Regions from separate parts of the Homo sapiens genome. Here regions 1 and 3 are each linked to region 2. The links are contacts of gene promoters, found by promoter capture Hi-C in human tissues and cell types (Jung and others, 2019). All regions are on one chromosome and are shown on one strand. Each heading gives the region's core, a stretch centred on a gene start or on the middle of the fragment in contact. The rest is flanking DNA. Distances are from core to core; before and after follow the strand shown. Region 1 overlaps SSH2 (slingshot protein phosphatase 2). Region 2 holds the start of SSH2 (slingshot protein phosphatase 2). Region 3 overlaps EFCAB5 (EF-hand calcium binding domain 5).

Region 1 (3,574 bases), core at 815-3,314, 160 kb before region 2:
GCCCAAGTCTTATTCTCCTATGTTTAAATTGTTCCCATTCTGAGACCACTTCTATTCAGCCTTTCAGGTTTTTCATGTATAACATATTTTTCAGACCTAGTTTAATTCTCAGCTCTTTCAATAATCAGAAACTCTATAGTGTTTTCATATCCATCTTCACTTAATTCTAATTAAAATCCTGTGTAGGTAAGGAGAGCTAGCTAGGATTATCAGCTTTATTTTACAGATGAGGAAACTAAGGCTCTGAAATTAAGGGACCTGCCCAAACTTACATAGTAAATGTCAGAGCTAGGATTTGAACCTACGTCTTCTGATTAAGTCCAGTGATCAATTCCTGGTTTATAGTACGCTGTGACACTTTTCTAAGTCCTCTAGAATTTATAATATGTATTACGTTATTCAAAGTCTTATTTTCTGTCCTCTATTTTGTGGCACATAATGCATATTTATATAGACAACAATGAGAGCATATTTATTTGTTGTCCTCTAATTGCTGCCTATATAACTTATCTCTCTACTGGAGCAAATCAGACACTAACTCTTTTGTGGACTTTATATAGCCTAGCACAGTGCTATGCAGGTCATAAGCACTAAATACATCCTGGTTAGATGACTGATCCTTTGCACTACATCACTTTATATCTTTCTTAAGATATATCATCTTTCTTTCACACACACATTATGCTCTAGTAAATATTTCCTTAAAGAATCAGTACATTAATGATGGAAGTTCTTTCTCCCTGGGAGCACTGCCTCACTAAATAAGGAGTAGCCCTTAAGACTCCTTTTCACTGCCTTTCATCTCTCTCTTGCTGCCTCTTGTTCTTTGGATAGATACCTCCTTCACACACAGAATTCAGTAGAGGGCCTGAAACACAACCTAGTAAGTAGGTAAGGGTTTTATTTTTATTTTCAAGCCTGCTCTAGACTTTCAGGAGCCAAAAGTTCAAATCACAGCAGGATTGATTCAGCCCTTTCACAAGCAATTTAGTACTATGCAGTTTGTTTAGGATGGTCAAGTTTCCAGGCCCTGGCAGAGCAGCATCATTATCTCTCTAAGCCTTCGTGTATCAACTTCCCTGGCCATATTTCACTTTCTATGTCTTTCTTCTCTGAAATCAGGTGAACATGCAAAATCAGACACTTACACAATTATACACTTTTCAACAACCATGTCAAATATGTTCAAGAATTTACCACAACATTGGAAGTTGTTTTTTCTCTCTGGATTAGATAAAACCAACAAGTATGCAAAAATTAACTCCTCAGTCCTTAGTAGAAAGGGGGCAGTATTTATCATTCTTCAGCTAGTACATCAATTAACTGAGAAAAGATGTGGTTTTTTTTTTTCCAGATTCTATTCAGTCCACCTCACAGCAACCTAAAAGGATAGATGGGCAGATGTTATCCTCATTTTACAAAATGAGGAAATTGAGGGCTACCATAGTGTGAGGTGAGACGGAACTAAAATCAGGTCTTTTTTTTTTTTTTTTTGAGACGGAGTCTCGCTCTGTTGCCCAGGCTGGAGTGCAGTGGCGTGATCTCGGCTCACTGCAAGCTCCACCTCCCGAGTTCACGCCATTCTTCTGCCTCAGCTTCCCAAGTAGCTGGGACTACAGGCGCCCACCACCATGCCCGAATAATTTTTTGTATTTTTAGTAGAGACGGGGTTTCACCGTGTTAGCCAAAAATCAGGTCTTCTTACTCTTACTTAATTGCTTTCTCTCTGTGGTAGTTAATTTTAGGTATCAATGTAACTGGATTACAAAATACCTACAGAACTGGTAAAGTATTACTTCTGGGTTTGTCTCTGAGGCTGTTTCCAGAGAAGATTGGCATGTGAGTTGGTGGACTGAGTGGGGAAGATCCAGTCTCAATGTAAGCAGGTACCAACCAATCTACCTGGGCTACAGGCCGAGATAGAACATAAAAGGAGAAAAAAGCTTTCCTCTCTCCTCCTGGAGCTAGGATACTCTTCTCCTCCTGCCTTTGGACATCAGAACTCCAGGCTCTCTGGACTTGGGACTCCAGGCTCTCTGGACTTGGGACTCCAGGATTTACTCCAGTGAACCCCTCCAGGTCCTTAGGTCTTTGGCATTTGACTGAGAATTACTCTAAAGGCTTCCCTGGCTCTGAGGCTTTTGGACTTGGACTGAGAAACCCTACCAGTATCCCGGTGTCTCCAGCTTGCAGATGGCCAGTCATGGGACTTCTCGGCTTCCATAATTGCATGAGCCAATTCCCCATCTGTCCATCCATCCATCCATCCATCCATCCATCCATCCATCCATCATCCACCCATCCATCCATCATCCACCCATCCATCCATCATCCACCCATCCATCCTATTCTGTCTCTCTGGAAAACTCTGACTAATATATCCTCTACTACTCTGCTGGACGTCCAGATTTCCCTTTGTATATAAAAAGAAAATCAACACTGCACACTTGGAATCCTACCTAACTAAACAGGAAGATTAAATCAGAACTGAGTTTCTATCCATAGAAATAATATTACAATGTAGAAAAGAAAAGACAAGGGGTCCTATTCCTTGTCATTACACAGTAGAATAGAAAATATATATTTAAAACTCATATACATTTTTTGTTTAATTACATTTTTTAAAACATTTTAATTTTACCTGGGAAATCTTTTGTTTTTCAGAAATCTTGTTTTCTAAGCACCTCATGAATAGATGGCAAACATTTTGACTCTCTTTTCTGAAGACCAATATTCTACAAATAATACTAATCTTCAACATCTTAGTTTTATTAAATGCTCCTTAATTTCACTTTGTAAGATTTCTCCATCAGATGGTTTACACATCGCCTTTTGAGATTATTAAATATGAATTTTGTTAAAGTGATATGAAGATATTGGCAGTTTGAGAGATCATTTGGGTTATTTTTTTTATTTATTTATTTTTAGATGGAGTTTTGCTCTTGTTGCTCAGGCTGGAGTGCAATGGCACGATCTCGGCTCACCACAACCTCCACCTCCTGGGTTCAAGCAATTCTCCTGTCTCAGCCTCCCAAGTAGCTGGGATTACAGGCATGTGCCACCACACTTGGCTAATTTTTAGTAGGCATGGGGTTTCTCCATGTTGGTCAGGCTGGTCTTGAACTCCTGACCTCAGGTGATCCACCTGCCTTGGCCTCCCAAAGTGTTGGGATTACAGGCGTGAGCCACCACGCCCAGCCATTTGGGTTATAATAGGAATCTTTCCATAGTGTCTGTTTCCTTTAAAATATATTTAAGACATAAACATATGCATAAGGAGCATATACATACAGGTTTCAAGGTAAGAAAAACCAAGTATATAAGGAGTTCCTAAAGTTTATACTGTTTAAACTCATAAACATAAGATCAGAAGAGACAAAAAACAAAAACTTGACCTTATACTAAACTCAGCAGTTCTGAATTGTGTTCATAATAAACCTTTCCTAATAGCCTTTTACTTTTTCATCCAAAACAAATAACTTGTAGTGAACAAGAAGGAAATTTTTTTTTTTGAGATGGAGTTTTGCTCTTATTGCCCAGGCTGGAGTGCAATGGCGGGATCTTGGCTCACTGC
Region 2 (3,577 bases), core at 812-3,311:
CAAAATCAGGCCTAGTAACCACAAACCAAAGAGTTTACTAGTGGAGTGAATTAAGAAGGTTTGATGGTATGTTAATGACTTTCCAAAAACTAGCATAAAGTACTACACATAAGAATAAATTATATTAAAGATTTATTCCTATGATACTTGTCTTCAGATGACCCTAAAATGTTTTACCAGCTTTGAAGTACAAGTATTCTCAAATCACAAAATCTTAGATTAGAAATAGTCTTAGAAGTCCCCCACTGCAGGAATTCTTTATACCACCTCCCAGGCAAAATGTTCTCCAGCCTTTGCTTGAATATTTCCAGCAATGTGCACTCACTATTTTGCAAGGCAGTGCACTCCACTGTTACAAATTCTTCCTTACAATCACTGGAAATCTGCCTCCCTGAACCAAGAATCCCAGTTCTGCTCTCTGAAACAACACAAGATATATAACCTTTGAAATAAAATCACTTATTAAGATATAGTTGTCAATTTCATCACACAAAATGCAATTAAAGCTCAGAAAAGAAGAAACCACAACCATACACAACAAAACTTTGAAATTCAGGAAATTATACTGAAATGACAAGCCAGCAAATTTCAGGATATCAAAGCTCACACCTCAGTTAACATACAAATATTAAGGGTAACCTGATGATTTTTTTACAGTGGAAAGTGGTACAGTGTTTATTAAATACCTTTTTTTGCAACCTGATACTACCAAATCCACCAACACCGTTTTTAAAATTACAGTTCTGTAGGAAGTTCAAGGTGGTTTTCCCAGTTGCTCGCATTTTCACTCAGTTTATTTCTCTCTAAAACATCTGGATGTTGGTTTTTTAAAGCCCATTTGCCCCACTGGTGCAATATATTGTTTTTAAAAATAAATATTTTCAAAAATGGAGCCTAAGAGAATGGAGTGTAAACGAATGGGGGTGGGGCGAGGAGAGAAGGCAAAGACGGGCCCAGCGGGGAAAGGCTGGTTACTGGGTATTTTCCTTCTGAGAGCATGCTTTATTGGCATAGGCATCTGAGGTAACGAGCCATACAAACACGACCTTAGAACAAGAATGATCACGAGCAATGAGTGTAAGGCATAAATATCTGTAAGACGGAAATAATTTGACACTGATCACTAAGCAGCACCAGATGCTTCGGGACCTCATAAAGGAAAGGTAAGAGGTCCAGGAAACAGAGATCATTGCTACCCTCTGGGGTGGGGGGCAGGCGGGAGAAACCAAGGAATAACTACGGTTGGGCAGTTCAAAGCCTGAACAGTACAGAGCAAAAGAAAGCCAGCAAGTGACTAGGGGAAGGCACACACCCTGGCGAGTACGAAGAAGGGTGTGCAGTGTGCAAATACTGAACAGGTCTATGAAATGGTGTGGGTAAGAGATGTGGGTGTGGGTAAGGGGCAACGCAGGAGGCTCACGGTCCCCTCCCTGCAGCAGAGCAACAGAGGGTAAAAGAAGGGGGAGGGTGAAAAGCAAGAATGACTCATTACCAAAAGGAAGTGCTCAAGCCATAGGGAGGCATGCCACAGGGGATTTCAGGGCGAGGATTGTGAGGAGCTAGGTGCTCAGGGTGATGGGGGCAAAAATCAACGTCTTGTAGTTCCTGCTGCTAGTCTTTAACATGGGGGTGTGGGGGGGTTCGCGGCAGCCGAGTGCCAAGGCCTGGGAAGCGGCGCGGCGCGTGCGCAGTGGCGTTCGGCGGGACCCGCTGAGGCAAAGCGGAGCCGCAGTGACAGAAGCAAGCGGAGCGGCCGCCAGGAAGGACTCACCGAGGCGCAGGGGCTGGAGGTGGTGCTGGGGGTAGGTGACCGCTGGACCGTGACCAAAGCCATCTAGGCGCTGCTGGGTTGTTCCGGGCAGGGCATTCTTGTCCTGAGTGTGGGGGACGGGAGGGTGACGGAGCCGGGATGGGGAAAGGGGTGCGGGGTGGGGGTGAAGGGAACGGGGAGGAGGAGGAGGCCGCGGGAACGGCCGCAGACTCCGCACCCACCACCAGACTGTCGCCGACTGACGCTCCGAACGGGCGGCGGGCGGGCGGTTCCGCAGCTGCGGGGCACAATGAGCGCTCCCAGTGCGCAGGCGCCACCTGTCAGCTACCGCCTCTCCCCTCGGCGCGCGCCGCCGCCTGGTCGTAACCCTTGAGTTGCCGGAAGCTGGCCGAGTGCGTGCGCCTCGGGCCGCCGCACCCTCCTGGGTTTCCTCCTTCGTGCTGGAATCGCGCGGTTTGCCAGCACTGGGTGCTGTGGAGTGGGGTGGGGGAAGGGGCCGAAGGGAGCCAGCCCGGTGAGGGGTCCCAGGGCGGGGGGCCGCTGGAGTCTTCACTCCTGAGAGACAACCATTTTATGAGGTGGGGCGGCGCACAGCTTAACCAACCTTAAAAAAAAGCAGCTGAGATGAAAATCCTGAAGCAAACACGTTTTCTATTGGGAAAGGGCTCCGCGGAGTTTCAAACCCTCTCACTGGGCGCAGACAGAACTGGGCTAGACCAGTTTACTCCCTTCACCCCGGCTCTCGGGGGCTTTTTCTTAACTTTTCCCCCCCTTCCGTCTATGTTTTATGATGAGACTTCTGGAAAGAAAACCATTTTCCGTTTGATACCCTGGAAAGGTTTGTGGTACCCTCATGCTTCCTCTATTGCCTGTCTAAAGACTTATTCATTATTCCTGAGGAGAAGAGAAGCTGAGCGCGCCTGGGAGTCCGAGGAAGCCGGTTGTGAGGGTCCAGCCTGCTATTGACCTCTCACTTGCCTCCTGCTGTGAAGACAGTCTTTTAATTAAACAGGATTTGCTCGTTAAGCTTTCTTCTCCTTCGTCTCTAAATGTCATTCTTTCATAGACCTATGTAAAAATGTAGATTAAAAGATATTTTAAGGGAATGGTTTTCTCAGGGGTAAATTGTCTGCAGAACATAAGCAAAGAATGTAATGGAAAATCAAGATTAAAAAGGAAAAAAATTGCACAATGCAAATATCACTGATTATTTACACAAAGAAAGAGAGTTGACAAGGCTATTTCTCAGCTTGAGTGGATGAGCTGGTAAATACCACCGTACATATCAAAGCTGTAGAAAACACACACACTTGGGAGTTTGCAGTTATTAAAACCCACCCCCTCCTGTTTGTCACTCAAACACTCTTGGATCTCATTGCTTCTTTTAAACTGACAGGGCTGTCATGAGCTCTTTCTGGCTGCTGTACGGTTAAACGCCACAAGAGTCCTCTGTGCTGAGCCTTTGTTCTCTCCCTGGGGCCCTGTGGTTGAAATAATTAGCAGGGAGGTTCCATCAAGAATCAGACACTGAGGGTCCCTGTACTGTACAGTCCTATGTAGAGTGTAGTGCAGAGAAGCCAGCTGGTAGGCTTTTGCCCCCTGGTGGTGATCAGGAGTGCCTGTGAGACAAAATTAAACAAAGATGTATGGTTCACAGATTAAACAATCTGACTGTGTTTTCCCCAGAGCTCCGTAGTAAACAGGAAAAGAGAAGGCAAGTTTCAGAAGTAAGAACTTTGAACCAATGCATGGGAGACCAAAGAGGAAACTAGATACATAGCCAAAAAATACACATAGCTAGAAGCT
Region 3 (3,655 bases), core at 500-2,999, 150 kb after region 2:
AACATATTCCACTGGGCTCAGAGATGCCTTTGGTATACTTGGTTTTCCAGGAGAGCAGTTGCCCAGGGCTTCAGTTCATCGTAAGAGGAGAATGAAAATCCCCCCCACCAATGAGTGAACTTTTGGTTAGTTCTTGGTTTCGTGTTTGTGTCTTTTAGCTAAACTACACATCCAATTTCCAAAGCCACACCCTGGTCACGAAGTGAGATTGTCTTCAAAACAATTTCAGAATTACATAGAATTGGTTGTGTCTGAACTCAGGGGCAATGAAGACCAAGTTCTGGAAAGTGTTGTGGAATTTCTGATGAATGCTTTAGAGAGGAGCCACATTGAGAGTCTGAGGAATTCTGCCAGGCGGAAATGGCTGCACCAAATCCAATGTGCTGCAGAGACAAGTGGGGTGTCCCTAGAGCCGGTGTATAGTGAGACCTTTAAGGCCCTCATGCAGGTACGTTTCCTAAAGCAGTATGTAAGAGGAAACATTTCCTCAAAGTAGGCGATGTTCAATGTTTGCAAAAGAGGAGCATCTTGAATTCTCTTGAAAAATCACTGGGTGCTGCTGTAGATATTTTATTCATTCCAGTCCATTACAAATGGCCCAAAGCCTAGGAGAGATACAACTGGAGTGACTGCTGGTTGACAAGATAGAAGCAGAGGAGAAAGGTAGAAAAGACAGATGTAGAAAAGATGTCTTGGGATTTCTAATTTCATTTCTGCTAAGAGTCAAATAAGCCTAGAATGGACAATAGACAGATTATGAACAATATCAGTAAGGAGATGTACAAGCAGTTCAAGCTACATTTCCCTTGCATGGTATTTTGGGAGTCAGTTTTAAAAGGAACTATTTAAATCATAAACTCATTATCGAGTCTGACACCACACAATATTTCACAGCATTGCCTAGAAGCAAGCTGAGACTACTGCAGAATCCTGTCACTTAGAACGCATGGCCCTGAGGGGCTACTGCCTACAGCCTTGCCACCTCCTCAGAGACTCCCAGGTTGCTGCTATTCACAGGCAGAAACAGCACAGCCGCCTTCTACATGTATCATAGATTCCACTAATCCAGGGAACCTATGCCAGTCATCTCAGCTAAATAGCGATACTTGCTCAATTGAATCATCTCCTGAATGGCCGAATTTTCCAGTGTAGTTGGAAATGGGGCACCGGGACCAAAAGACCACTCAAGAAGAAGAGGCATTGTTCTAACTTGCTTCAGAGGTCTGTGGTATCCTAAGAGAAATCTCGCTACATATTTGTTAATGACTCCATAGATCTTGTATGTGGAAAGAAGGAATAAAGGCAAAAGAAAAGGGCATGGAAAGCAAACCCAAATATATAGAAAGAGGAGAAAAATATCAAGGAAAGTGTCTCACATGTCCCCAATTTATGGATATGTTTAATGTATATATTGACACATAATATTGTTAATAACATAATAATAATATTTAAGGTACAGAGAATTTATAGTTGCAGAAATAGTAGTTGCAGAAAGTCTGCAATCTTGGGCCACAAAAAAATCCTTCCTGAAATTACATAGATCAAATATACAAAGTGTGTTAAGAGTTCCTCGAGAGCATTTTTTTTCACTTTCACATCACAGTCGACGGTCAAGAAATATGAGTGAAGTGAAGGCAACTTCTTGGCCCAGCTCTCTCTCTCTCAAATCAACACTTTCAATAGAAACACAGACAGTTGACCATAGGTCAAAGGAATCCAAGTTTTAAACCTCTAAATTTGAGTAGACTTGAGAGTTTTTTGGTTTTGTTTTTCTTTTCTGGTAAACCAGTCCAGTTGGCATAGAAGAAACCCGTTATACCCACTGAAACTCAGACTTACAGGATAGCTATGCTGTCAACCTTTTCCCCACTGCCCATGAATAGTAATATATGCATTCTTTATTCAGGAAAATGAAACTACTGGGGCAAGATGCATGAATTAACTAGTAAGGGGGACATGATTAGGGGAGTTCTTTGGCTGTTGGCAAACACATGGTCGGAAACGTTTTGCTGTAGGATGCTGAAGCCCATGGAAATAAAAAGATCAGTGCTCACATTTCCCTCTTAGAAGAAAACCTACTACTGCCTGAGAAAGGGAATGTTCTATTGAGGAATGTGGCTTGTACCTTAGATGATGCTCAATTTGTACTGAACAGAGTGCTCTACAGGGACATGAAAGGAATCAGGTAAGAACTTCTTGAAGAGATTGGTTTCACCCTCCTAAAAAAATAATTCCCTTTCTGAGTAAACTGGCATCAAGATCCCAGCTAGCTGCTCAAAAGAGAGGTGCCTCAAGTCACCAGTGCTTCTGGAGTAGAAGCTGATGGCTTCCAGTCCTGGATGATTTCACTTATTTCTAGAGCTCGCTCTTTGGTAATGATTCGCCACATGGGGACTCTGCGTCACAATATCATCTCAATTATTTCTGCCTGCTCCATAAGTTATGTCTCTGGAGTTCTGTTTATATTTGTTTTCTATGTCCACATCCAAGCTTGTTTTTTTTTTTTTTGTTTGTTTGTTTTGTTTTTGTTTTAGTCTTTCTCAAGTCAGACCTCCAAACTGGTCATCTTATCTGAGTCCACTGCTCGGTCATATAATGCCACAGATTGTGAATAGAGAATCGCTCTAGTTTCCTCCATGGTTTAATCTAAATCTCTCCCTGTGCCTTTCTTCCATCCTCATACTCTTTTTCCTCAGCTTTACAGTAGTGGATGAAGGGAAGCCAATCCATGTTCCCCAAGTTCAGTACCATGGGAACATCTTCTTCTGGAACCAGTCCCGTAATAAGCATGATTATAATGGTTCATTCCTGGCTCTGCCTCTTCAAGATGCATATATGAGGATCTTTGGGGTCTTGGCTGTTGATACCCTTAGAGATCCCCACGAAATAAACATCTTTCTACCTCATGAGATCAGATTCTATCAGGTAAGTCATAGAAGTCTTCAAGAGCGATGGTAGGATGGCCTCTCTTTCTAATACTTTTTAAAGAGTGAAACCTGAAATCCGATGAGAGTAAAGCTGTGTATACAGATAACATCATCATACTTGCTCCTGTTCCCTGAATGTATGTTTCAGTCTTTTGAGAAGTTCCCCATTACTTATGGAAGGACTTTCAGCCTCAGTTACATATCCATGCCTCAGCCTCATGTGTCCCATAGCATTAATCACAGGAATAGAATTTTATGCTACAGAACAGAAATCCAACCATTGACCATTAAGACCCACAAAGCGGGAATGAACTTTTAGAAGGGACGTATTTGTGTTTTACTAACAGTGGTATCTATCTAGAAATCTTTTGTACTTTCTACAAATGGTACTAATTCTGATATGCATCCCCATAGGTCTTGATTTCAGTGTTATAATTTTTGAGGATGAAAAATAAAGAAAAAGGCCTAAATGTTTCTTGGGTATTCATGTTTTTAAATTAGATCACAAAATGATAGGCACTTTTAAGATCATGAAATAGCTAGACCATTTCTACAAGCATTTTTATTTAATTTATGGATAGAACTTGCAATAAAGGAAGATCAAAAGCCTTTATGGAGACAATGAACTGTGGAGTCTAGCAGCAAGTTAGGAACTTGAACTTGCTATGCCCTTATCATTTGTTGCCCTGTAAGCCTTTGGCTCTTTATGTTTATTTACCATTATTTTT

The links. Contacts are between HindIII fragments. The study calls those that stand out against the background at their distance.
Region 1: a contact is called between a fragment that was not itself captured here and the fragment with the promoter of SSH2 in region 2, in 1 of the 25 tissues and cell types used here (spleen).
Region 3: a fragment that was not itself captured here is called in contact with the fragment with the promoter of SSH2 in region 2 in 1 of the 25 tissues and cell types used here (adrenal gland).

The regions. Positions count from the first base shown.
Region 1 is chr17:29,770,770-29,774,343 of GRCh38, forward strand. All of the region lies in intron 3 of SSH2 (slingshot protein phosphatase 2), which reads right to left. Among named protein-coding and RNA genes, the nearest start is that of SSH2-AS1, 130 kb to the left of the region's middle. The HindIII fragment of the contact is 3,784 bases long and covers 173-3,574 here.
Region 2 is chr17:29,928,167-29,931,743 of GRCh38, forward strand. SSH2 (slingshot protein phosphatase 2) reads right to left here and starts at 2,062. Exons shown (of 16, transcript NM_001282129.2): 1 at 1,772-2,062. The coding sequence starts at 1,834. It also overlaps a transcript of EFCAB5 not described here. RefSeq lists silencers at 1,262-1,311, 1,822-2,101, 2,252-2,341, 3,075-3,244. The HindIII fragment of the contact is 11,754 bases long and covers 1-3,577 here.
Region 3 is chr17:30,078,057-30,081,711 of GRCh38, forward strand. It overlaps EFCAB5 (EF-hand calcium binding domain 5), which reads left to right. Exons shown (of 23, transcript NM_198529.4): 15 at 159-448; 16 at 2,016-2,185; 17 at 2,697-2,925. Among named protein-coding and RNA genes, the nearest start is that of NSRP1, 37 kb to the right of the region's middle. The HindIII fragment of the contact is 7,904 bases long and covers 1-3,655 here.